Linked DNA regions of Homo sapiens: region 1 is linked to region 2. Evidence: promoter capture Hi-C in human tissues and cell types (Jung and others, 2019). All regions are on one chromosome and are shown on one strand. Each heading gives the region's core, a stretch centred on a gene start or on the middle of the fragment in contact. The rest is flanking DNA. Distances are from core to core; before and after follow the strand shown. Region 1 overlaps MORC2 (MORC family CW-type zinc finger 2). Region 2 holds the start of PRR14L (proline rich 14 like).

What was found. The method cuts DNA at HindIII sites, captures the fragments that hold promoters and counts their contacts. A contact is called where the count stands out against the background at its distance.
Region 1: a fragment that was not itself captured here is called in contact with the fragment with the promoter of PRR14L in region 2 in 1 of the 25 tissues and cell types used here (dorsolateral prefrontal cortex).

What each region holds. Positions count from the first base shown.
Region 1 is chr22:30,951,810-30,957,169 of GRCh38, reverse strand. It overlaps MORC2 (MORC family CW-type zinc finger 2), which reads left to right. Exons shown (of 26, transcript NM_001303256.3): 3 at 373-407. Among named protein-coding and RNA genes, the nearest start is that of MORC2, 14 kb to the left of the region's middle. The HindIII fragment of the contact is 6,988 bases long and covers 49-5,360 here.
Region 2 is chr22:31,747,815-31,753,340 of GRCh38, reverse strand. PRR14L (proline rich 14 like) reads left to right here and starts at 3,209. Exons shown (of 9, transcript NM_173566.3): 1 at 3,209-3,348. RefSeq lists enhancers at 2,984-3,278, 2,768-3,327, 3,567-4,199. The HindIII fragment of the contact is 11,409 bases long and covers 1-5,526 here.

The sequences.
Region 1 (5,360 bases), core at 2,293-4,792, 800 kb after region 2:
AACATCTTTTTATGATTGCAATCAAATGAGTGAGAAAAACATATTTGAATCATTTCTTAGGGTATAAAGGGAAATATTCTTGCTTATCCTATAGATGTTTTTACCACAAAATCAGGATTTAAAAAAAATATCCAGGCCCCATGTCATGTGATCATCTTCAATAATTTGGGGCTTCAGAAATGTTTTACAGATATATAAAGAAAATTGTGTTGTCAAGTATAAAAGTAAAAAAAATTCTAAATGTCTATAGAATTTCTGTATGGCTTCCTGAAAACAGACTCAAAATACTCTGCATTCTACTCAAATCACTATGCATTTTGATGGTTGATATTTCATATTAATTCACATGATTCTTTTCTTTTCACTTTGCAGAGATGCTGATGCCACCAGAATAGATATTTATGCAGGTAAGTCAGGCTTTAGTCCTTCTAATGTCTAGTTCATCTTAATGCATTTATTACTGTGCCTAAGAAGAATTGAGTGGGAAATAACTGGATTCGGGAGCCTGGGAAGATGGCATGATTATTCCAGGTCATAGGTAGAAAAGGGGCAGCCGTAGTCAGGTATGGTCAGCTCTGGTCAGGCATAGAAACCAAGAATATTGGTTTCAAGAAACTAACACAAGGTATCCAAATCTATGTAAATAGCTACTAGTAGAGTTATGGAAGTGATGGAGTGGAACAGTAGAGAGTGAAATGACCAAGTTATTTTACTGGTAGGCGTTAATAGGTGAACGAGGTTTGTGGTACCTGCAGCCAAGGAGAGATCTTGTTGGAGGCCACTTTGTTTTGAACTCTTGGTGAGCACTAGTCTCAACTTGGAGAATTGCTGGTATCGGTTGCGGAAAATAGCAGTAACTGGATTGGCTCTGAGGTTTGCTGAGTTGTTCTCAGAGGTGTCAGGAAGGAAGGCTGCTTGGCTTGGAATTTACACCTGTCAACATCCTATTTCGTTTTGCTTATTTGGCTCTGCTGTTTTGTAGTAAGATCTTCTCCTTTTCCTAGAGTGAGTGCAACAGTCATTGGCCTTTTAATTAATTAACTCATTAATTTTAATAGTTTGCTTTCTGCCTGGTATTTGTACTAGCACCTTTTTTAGTCATTTGAATACTAAAAATTTGAAAGCAGAATGGAGGAAGACAGCTTTTTTTTTTTTTTTTTTTTGAGATGGAGTCTTACCTTGTCACCCAGGCTGGAGTGCAGTGGCACGATCTTGCCTCACTGCAACCTCCATCTCCCAGGTTCAAGCAATTCTGCCTCAGACTCCCAAGTAGCTGGGATTACAGGCGCCCACCACCACACCCGGCTAATTTTTTGTATTTTTAGTAGCGACGGGGTTTCACCACGTCGGCCAGGCTGGTCTCAAACTCATGACCTCAGGTGATCTGCCTGCCTCGGCCTCCCAAAGTGCTGGGATTACAGGCGTGAGCCACCACACCTGGCCGGAAGACAGCTTTTAAATACAATTCGACTAGTGTGATGTGTTTTTTTCTGACAGACTTTTCTGAAATCCTCTGAAATGTGTGAGGTGATATTTTGAGTAGCATGAACTAGGTTCTGAGAAGTCTGTATGTTTACATGGGAATGAAATAACCCCTCTTCATGGACCCTTTTGATGAATGGGAACAAGCACACAACTAAGTAGTAATTCTCAGAACCACTAATGTCATATAATTATGAAGAATCTGCCCCAGATTTGATGAATTTCTCATGTCTGCTATACTTTGGAGCAAAGAAAATCCTCAGAGCAGCTAAAAGTCAGCTGTACTGCTTCAATTCTGAAAGCCTTTTGTTCAAAAGGCTCTGCCAAAGTGGTAAAAATAAGGCTTCTTTTCTCTCTAGAAGAAAGTAACAGGAAATAGGGGCACACAGGAAAAGAATGTTAGAAGATGATTACTAAATGCTCAGGCCAAGGCTGGGCGTGGTGGCTCACACCTGTAATCCCAACACTTTGGGAAGCCGAGGCAGGCGGACCACCTTAGGTCGGGTGTTTGAGACCAGCCTGACCAACATGGAGAAACCCTGTCTCTACTAAAAATACAAAATTAGCCGGGTGTGGTGGTGCATGCCTCTAATCCCAGCTACTCGGGAGGCTGAAGCAGGAGAATCGCTTAAACCCAGGAGGTGGAAGTTGCCATGAGCCAAGATCGCACCATTGCACTCCAGCCTGGGCAACAAGAGCGAAGCTCCGTCTCAAAAAAAAAAAAAAAAAAAAAAATGCTCAGGCCAGATGGAGGTGCCTTTCCAAGCCAAAGCATGTATCTTACATCTGAGTGTGCTTTCTCAGGAATGGTAACAGCTACCGCTGGAAAAATAGGGCTTATTTAATCAATGCACAGATGCTAAAGCAGAGAATGGGCCTCTTCTCCAAGTGATGTTGAAGGTACAAATCGTAATGGTCAAGTCTACTTGGAAGACGTTTTTTAAAAAAGATCATCTCTGCTGTCTCCTACTACATTTGGTGGGTAAATTTCAGCAAGGAAGTTTAGTTCCTGACACTCAGAATGAAGTTGGATTTCAATTTAAATGAAAAAGGACCCAGTGTGTCTTTATTCTGTGCTCAGTACAACTCCTGTTATGCTTTGGGAAATGTCCAGAGAGGAGGAGATGGGGGTCTTTGCTTTAAGAACTTAGTCTTTAATTGGAGAGACAATTAATGCACTATGGATAATTAGAGAACAATAACTAGATCTTGAGGGAACAGTCAAGACAGTTAAGGATTAAATGGTGTGATAGAAGCACTAAGCACCATAGCATTTTGGAAAAAGACTTGATTTACTTCAAGTACCAGGAGATTGGGATTCTTGGCTAAGGGATCTTTAACCCTACACTTTTCTACCACAGGGCCTTGTTAACACATTCAACAGGAGAAATCAGTCCGTGGAATCTTTTTTTTTCACCCAGGCTGGAATGCAGTGTGCTATCTAGGCTCACTGCAACCTCCACCTCTCGGGCTCAAGTGATCCTCCTACCTCAGCCTCCCGAGCAGCTGAGACTACAGGCACACACCACCATACCTGGTTAATTTTTGTATATATATTTTTTCACCATGTTGCCCAGGCTGGTCTCAAACTCCTGAGCTCAAGTAATCTGACTGCCTTGGCCCCCCAAAGTGCTGGGCTTACAGGCTGAGCCGATGCGCTTGGCCAGTAATAATCTTAATACTATAAAGTTCTTGTTGTTAGTTCATGGGGGAAAGTATTTTCTTATCTCCACTTCTGAAACTGATTGATAACTGGACTTGGAAATCTTTCCAAACATCAGATGTAGTTTGAAGTCACCACAAAGTCACATTTAAAGACCATTTTTAAACCTAAAAAGGGCAAAAAAGGAGCCAGCCTCTCAAAGTGTAGAGGTGTTCATTTACCCAAAGCATATTATTATTAGTTGGATTATTATTATAGACCATAATATGCCTGTCATAAGCAGACTGTTTTTGTTGACTTTCTTGACCTTCTGGGGTAGGTAGTGCCACCTCCTTGGAAGAAAGATCCTTTTCGTGATGCCAGGGCAATGATTAACACATGGAAAATTGGAGCAAATGAAACTGCAATTAATACTGCTCAAACAGATTGCAGAGTATGATGAAGAACTTGGATGTCATTTTATTGCAGCCTCTCCTGGGGACACCATTATTTTATCACCTTTGACTTTTGGATGTATAGCTCCATTTGACATCTCTTGTCTTTTCCTGCTTTCTTTCTTTATTCTTCCCAGTGGGAGTTAGATGAAGAATGTCTGGCTTGCAGAAGCCAGACTTGGCCATTCTGGGAGATGTGCAGACTTTCAGATTGGCTTTGACAGTCTTACAGAGCTGTTCCCAGGATATGAAGCACAGCTGCAAAGCAGGCAGTTCGGCTTTGCCTTCTCTTACTTTCAAGATGTGTGATGGGAGGCGGGGAACATACAACCCCCAGCTGCTTAGACTCTTCTTTATCCAGAATTCCCCTTCCTTTATCTTTGGAGGCTTCAGATATCACTCAGTTGACTGATTAAATATCAGGTGATAGGAATCTATCTCTATGGTGGAATATATGAGGAGATAGTTTTGAGCAGGGACGCCTTCGAGTTCTTGCTTGCTCTAGTTTAGTGCTTCTCAAAAGGTGGTCCATCCACAGATGTTGTCAATATCATCTTGGAACTTGTTAGAAATGCGAATGCCCCACCTCAGACGTACCCAGACTATCCAGGGGGAGCCCAGAATCTATTTTCACAAGCTCTTTGGATAATTCTTACCCATACTACATTTTGCTCTAGCCAATACTTTTCTAAGCTTCCTTCAGCTTAAACCCTCCTGTCCTTTACTTCCTAGCTTATCTGCTGCAGGCAGTAGAATCCATTAGATGTAAGCTCCATGAAGACAGTGATCGCATATGTACTGTTCACTGCTCTTGTCCTCATCATAACCAGGCACAGAAGAGCTGATCACTAAGTAGTCATTAAATAAACAAGTGATTGGCATAAGCATTTGAACAAGGTGAAGAGACCACACTGTCTGTTTACAAAGTTGAAGAAGTCAATGCTGTCTTAGTCTTTCTTGGCCCTGAGGCAGTATTGCATGTGGCCATGGACCTAGACACTACTAGCCATTTATAGGCTGTCAGTTACTATGTAGCCAGGAGGATCCCCCCAGTGTCATCTCTTACCCTTTAAACTACACGAAAAAGCTTTGAAATGAAGTCCTTGAGCCAGAAAAGGATACCAGCCCCACTGTTAAGTGATGATTGTGTGCTAAAGCAGCCTAAGAGTTCTATCCTAACACAAGAGCCTAGAAAGTAACTTCTTAGGCAGTGTCCAAAGAATGCCAGTAGTCCTTGGGGACTTTTCAGAGGTGCTTGGCTTGAATCAATTTCTAGATCCCAAAGCAGAGTCTTCATGCACATTTTGCGGCTGTAGTGTACAGCAAATGGCTCTTGGCTAGGTTTAGAATGCTGCTTTTACCATTCTCTGTACCTGACCCAGTTTGAGTCTCCTTATGACACTTGGCTTCCTCCAGATGGAAATTTTGAAGCCTTTTTGGACTTTTATTGTACTTATTCTTGATTGCCACGTCTCATTTGGATTCCCCAGACTCTGATTAGAGGCACTGCCACCAGGAGAGATTTTATCTAACCAATAGTACTTCCAGGAAGATCCTCACCCTTGTACTTTCAAGAAGCACTTGTAATTAATGTTCAGCTTCCTGAACACTGAGTGGTACTTGAAAATCTCTGTGGTTTATAGCCTTACAGAAGCTACTCTGGAGGCTGAGGCAGGAGAATCGCTTGAACCTGGGAGGCAGAGGTTGCAGTGAGCCGAGATCACGCCGTTGCACTCCAGCCTGGGCGACAGAGTGAGACTCCATTTCAAAAAAAAAAAAAA
Region 2 (5,526 bases), core at 1,960-4,459:
ACACAAAACCCTTCAGAAGGAAGCAAGGACGAATCCTGACCCGTTCCCAGAACGGGGCCTTTAACCAACATCCTTTGGTCATACCCAGGGCACTGCCTAAACTCGCGTCTGTCAGGATATCTTTCTCTCCAAGCAGAAAACCAGAGAGCTGGGTGGGCTGGGTCAGGCTCTGGCCAAGGACTCCTGACAATTGCCAGCTCCGCCTGCTGCCACTGATACCCCCGCCCCCTAGTCCAGTCCACCGTTTCTGACCTGAGCGGCAGCAACTCGATAGGGACTCCCTGCTTCCCCTCTTGAAGCCAGAGAGACCTTATAACTAGAATCGGTGTCTTGGGTCACGCCTCTCCTCTGCTGCTTCTAATCACACTGACTGCTAAATCTAAACGACACAGCACTTGTCTTAAATTTCTTTATATCTTTAATACTAACAGTGCCCATTTCTTACGGATTTGGAAAACTTAAAAATGTTGAAAGAAAAAACATGTTACACTGTAGTGAAAGATTCTGCAGTGGACCAAGGGGACCCTGGGACAGGACAAGCAACGTTCTTAAGCATGGATGCCTTTATGTTGGGACTCAGGAGAAGTTAGGTAAATAATGCAAGTGTTAAGTAATTGCAATTTTTTTGTTTGTTTGTTTTTTTGTTTTTGTTTTGAGATGAGGTCACCCTCACCCAGGCTGGAGTGCAGTGGCATGATCCCGTCTCACTGCCATCTCTGCCTGCCTGGCTCATGCGATCCTCCCACCTCAGCCTCCTAGTAGCTGGGATTACAGGTGCATGCTCAGCTAATTTTTGTATTTTTTGTAGAGACGGGGTTTTGCCATGTGGCCCAGGCTGGTCTCAAACTCCAGAGCTCAAGTAATCCGTCCGCCTTGGCCTCCCAAAGTTCTGGGATTACAGGCACCAATCACTGTAGCCGGGCCTTTTTTTTCCCCCAAGACCAGGTCTAGCTCTGTTGCCAAGGCTGCAGTGCAGTGGTTCTATCATAGCTCACTGCAACCTCAATTTTCTGGGCTCAAGTGATTCTTCTGCCTCAGCCTCCCAAGGGACTGGGACTACAGGCCAAGCCACCACTCCTGGCTGAAATTGTTTATCTTGTAATAAAACATATGTGATACAGTGGATTGCAACAGTTACAAAATTTTTTAAGAATAACAATGTTATGTTAAAAAATGTTTCTATGTTGCCACTTCAGGAGATACACCTAGATCCCCCAAGATAGTTTTTGTCTTTAGCAATGGTGGTTGATGGGACATTCTTCCATCCCTGGGGAAGCTAATAGGATTCTCTCTTCTTAGCCCTCAAGGGAATTTGATTCCTTCTCCTGAGAGATGTCCATAATGGGACATCTTAAAAAGGCAAATTTTTTTTTTTTTTTGAGACGGAGTCTCCCTCTGTCGCCCAGGCTGGAGTGCAGTGGCCCGATCTCGGCTCACTGCAACCTCTGCCTCCCGGGTTCATGCCATTCTCCCGCCTCAGCCTCCCGAGTAGCTGGGACTACAGGTGCCCGCCACCACGCCTGGCTAATTGTTTATAATTTTTAGTAGAGAGGGGGTTTCACCGTATTAGCCAGGATGGTCTTGATCTCCTGACCTCGTGATCCGCCCGCCTTGGCCTCCCAAAGTGCTGGGATTATAGGCTTCAGCCACCACGCCCGGCCAAAAGGCAAATATTTTAACTTTTTAATTTGGCAACTCTCATAAAGAAACTCTGAAGGCCAGGAGTGGTGGCTCACGCCTGTAATCCCAGCACTTTGGGAGGCCGAGGCAGGCGGATCACTCGAGGTCAGGAGTTCAAGACCAGCCTGGCCAACATGGTGAAACCCTGTCTCTACTAAAAATACAAAAATTAGCTGGGCATGGTAGCATGCGCCTGTAATCCCAGCTACTCAGGAGGCTGAGGCTGGAGAATCTCTTGAACCTGGGAGGCAGAGGTTGCAGTGAGCCGAGATCCTACCACTGCACTCCAGCCTGGTGTCAGAACGTGGCCCCGTCTCAAAAAAAAAAAAAAGAAAGAAAGAAACGAAACTTTGAAGCATTCAATTTTTTTTTTTTTTTTTTTTTTTGAGACAGTGTCTTGTTTTGTTGCCCAGGCTGGAGTGCAGTGGGGGCACCATCATAGCTCAATGCAGCTTCAAACTCCTGGGCTCAAACGATCCTCCTGCTTCAGGCTCCCCAGTAGCTAGGAGCACAGGTGCATCAACACCTGAGCAATTTTTGTTTTGTTTTGAGAAAGAGTCTTGCTGTGTCATCCAGGCTGGAGTGCAGTGGCACTATCACTGCTCACTGCAGCCTCAACCTTCCAGCCTCAAGTGATCTTCCTGCCTCAGCCTCCAGAGTAGCTGGGATTACAGGCACACATCACCAGACCCAGCTGTTTGTTTTTTGGCAGAAACGATGTCTCACTATGTTGCCCAGGCTGGTCTCAAACTTCTGGGCTGAAGTGCTTCTCCCGCTTTCGCCTCCCAAAGTGCTGGATTACAGGCGTGAGACACCGCGCCTGGTCGATTTCTATTTTTTAACACAAAGCCGTATTATTTGGGGCAAGTCGATTTCATTATCTGGACCTCAATTCTTCCACTGGATAAACATTTCTTCCTTCCTTCAAATGTCCATTGAGCGTCTAGTTTTGTGCCGGACACTGCTCTTGGTGCTGAGCATTAAGTGATGAACAAAACAGACAAGGTGGAGGAAGATAAATGATAAACAAGTCAATAAAGAGATGAGACATAGAAATTTCAGCTAGTGTTAAAGCTATGAAGAAAATAAAACAAGGTTCTGTAACCAACTGGAGGCAGAGGTGCCATTTATTTAGTGGTCAGTGTGATTAGAAGAAGCAGAGGAGTGTCATGACCCAAAACACTCTTTCCAGTAGAATAAGATCTCTCGGGCTGCCAGAGTGGAAGCAGGCAGGCCCTTAGAATTGTAGCCGTCCAGACTAGAAAAACGGTGGACTGGAACAGGGTGACAGCAGCGAAGGCCGGCACTGGGTCCTGTGGCTCAGCAGGAGCAGAACCAAAAGTTGTGTTTCCCTTTAAGAGTTTGAGCCGCAGGGGCGGGGTTGAGGGAGGCTGGGGCTAGCAGAGGGCGGGAGGTCAGAATCAGGAAGAGCCTTCCCTTGGAGTGCGCGCGCGCGGTGCGGGGGCGGGATTTGGGCGAGTCCGCATGGCTGGCTCGGGCCCCGGATGAGGAAGTGCAGGGGGACCATAGAGACGAAGAGGTGGCGGCGGCCGGAGCGCCCCCGGCCTCTGTCGGCTCCGTAGGCTCAGGTAGACCTGGCGACGACGGGGCTGCAGCTGCAGGGGCTGAGCTGGCTGGGCAAGCGCGGGCCGCGGAGGAGGTCTCAGGGTAAGAGGCCGGGACTGGAAGGCTTCGGGCGTAGCCGCCCCGCCCCACTCCGCCCTAAAGGGACCCTCCGCCGGGTGGTGCTGCTAAAGGGGAGTCCAGGCCCCCCGCCCTCTCGGGGCGCGGAAAGGAACCAAGGCTGCCCTGTGGGCGGCGGAACGACCCAGGGAGAGGGAGGAGACCAGGCCCCGCGTCGCTAGAGAAAAGCGGCTTCTCCGAGTCATGGCTCCGACGCGGGAGAGAGACTCCTCTTCAACCTCGATACAACAGGGATCCCCCAACTTATCTCCTCGGAGAGGACGACGCCCCTTATCGGAGGCGTACGCTCTTTCTTAGCGCTCATCCGTTGGTCAGCAGAGGGAGACCCACTCCCAGGGTTCGAGGGGGATTCTGAACTTATCCTGAGGAGGAGTAAAAGATAACCCCTAAATGAGACCTTTCCCCCAACTTTGGTCAGCGTCACCCAGGTGAAGAGTGAGACCCAACTTGCCTGAAAGTGACAGAGGGGATCTTTCTTCCCAGTAAGAAAGAGACTTACCTTCCTCCTTTATTTTTCGCCTGTACCCCAAGATACGGAGAGGAAGACCTTGAAATTTTACTTTATGGTATCAGAAATCAACCTTTCTCCCTCTCCCCTCGTGATGTCCACAGAGAGACCCTCGCTTCTCTTCTTCCCTTTAAGCCTCTTGGTGTGCAGTGAGCTCCTTTCCCTTGCATTATTAAGAGCATGGCTTTTGGAGTGTAATCGTTGCAAACCTGGGTCTCTCACTTAACGTCTTTGTGACCTTGACTATTTGTTTAACTTGTCTGAATCTCAGTCCATCTCCAATTTGGGTTCTGTTTTCTTAGAATTGTCATGCGGGCTAAGGGAGCATTTGTGTAAATACTAGTTATATAGTAAGCTTTTGGTAAGCTGTTGCTATTACTATTACTTAATCTGTTAAAAAAGAAAACTAATATCTTGCACAGAGAAGCATATTTTTCCATGCATGCCCCTCGCAGCCTCCATCACAAGTGTTCAACCATCCTTTCTCACTGGAGTGGAAGACTCCCTCCCACTTAGGGGTTAGAGAAAGAGACACTTCCAGTCCCCTTAGATCCTGCTGTTCAATACTTTCCCAAATTAACAAAGAGGGCCTCACTGAAAATAATCAGTAAAAAAAAGACTTAGCTTTTGGAAACAGGTCTGTGCTCTTAAGAGAAAGTGAGACCTGATGCCAGACGCCAGCACTTCCTTTGTCCACAGAAGGTATCACTTCTTCCTGACTGGTTAGAGATGCCCTCTCCCACTTCCCTGACTTACTGTAGTGACAAAAAATCTTCCATCTGCACATCCTTCCCACCCCCCCAAGTGGGCGATTCCATATTCTTCCTGTCTTTTGCTCTCCCAAGAAAATGAAGACTCTATACCTTTGAGGAGAGATCTCTTCCCTCTTGTATATGGAAAATGACACAGATTGTTTCTTTTCTCCTTTTCCTTTATAAAACAGAGGAAAATCTTTTATACAGGAAGCCTCTGTCAGTAGAAATCAGGAGCATTTTCCAGTTTCACTCCTTACGTGGAGACAGGGATCCTTTTTCTGGATGTTATTAAAGGGAGGAAATGGGAAATAGTCCTTGATGCTTTAGAGATTTTCTGCACGCTCCATGTTGAAGCGCTTGCCCTGTTTAGTGTATGAACTTCCCTGCCTCACTTTTGGTTTGTCTTGGGATTTTATTAAAAAACTCTTCTTTCTTTGTTTCTCAAGAAGAGGCCCATTCTCCAAATTCCCTCTTGGAGGGAATGGCTACAATGTCTGAATCTTTGGAAAAGAAAGCCCCTTTCTCAAGGTGAAAAGAGTGTTGTGAGCTTCTGAGGGCCTGGTCATTATTGTGAGTATTGTTCCTGAAGCAAGCATGGCAGCGCCTAGTGTTATTAACAGCCCCTATGCATTGGAATTAAAGGGAGGGGAGACTTTCAGATTCGGGATTATTGAGGCACACGGTTTTATGTTCTGTTTTTTTTTTGCTTGTTGCTGTAAATTTTGTACCTCCAGAACTTTTGTTTTGGGGAGTGTTTGAATGACTAAAAGTTGCCACTTTGTCAGGTTTTTAGTGTTATAAAATGTATTCTGATGAGATTGAGAGCAACAATGTTAATCCTTCACTGGTAGGTTTGTTTTCCTGTTTTTGTTTTTTTTT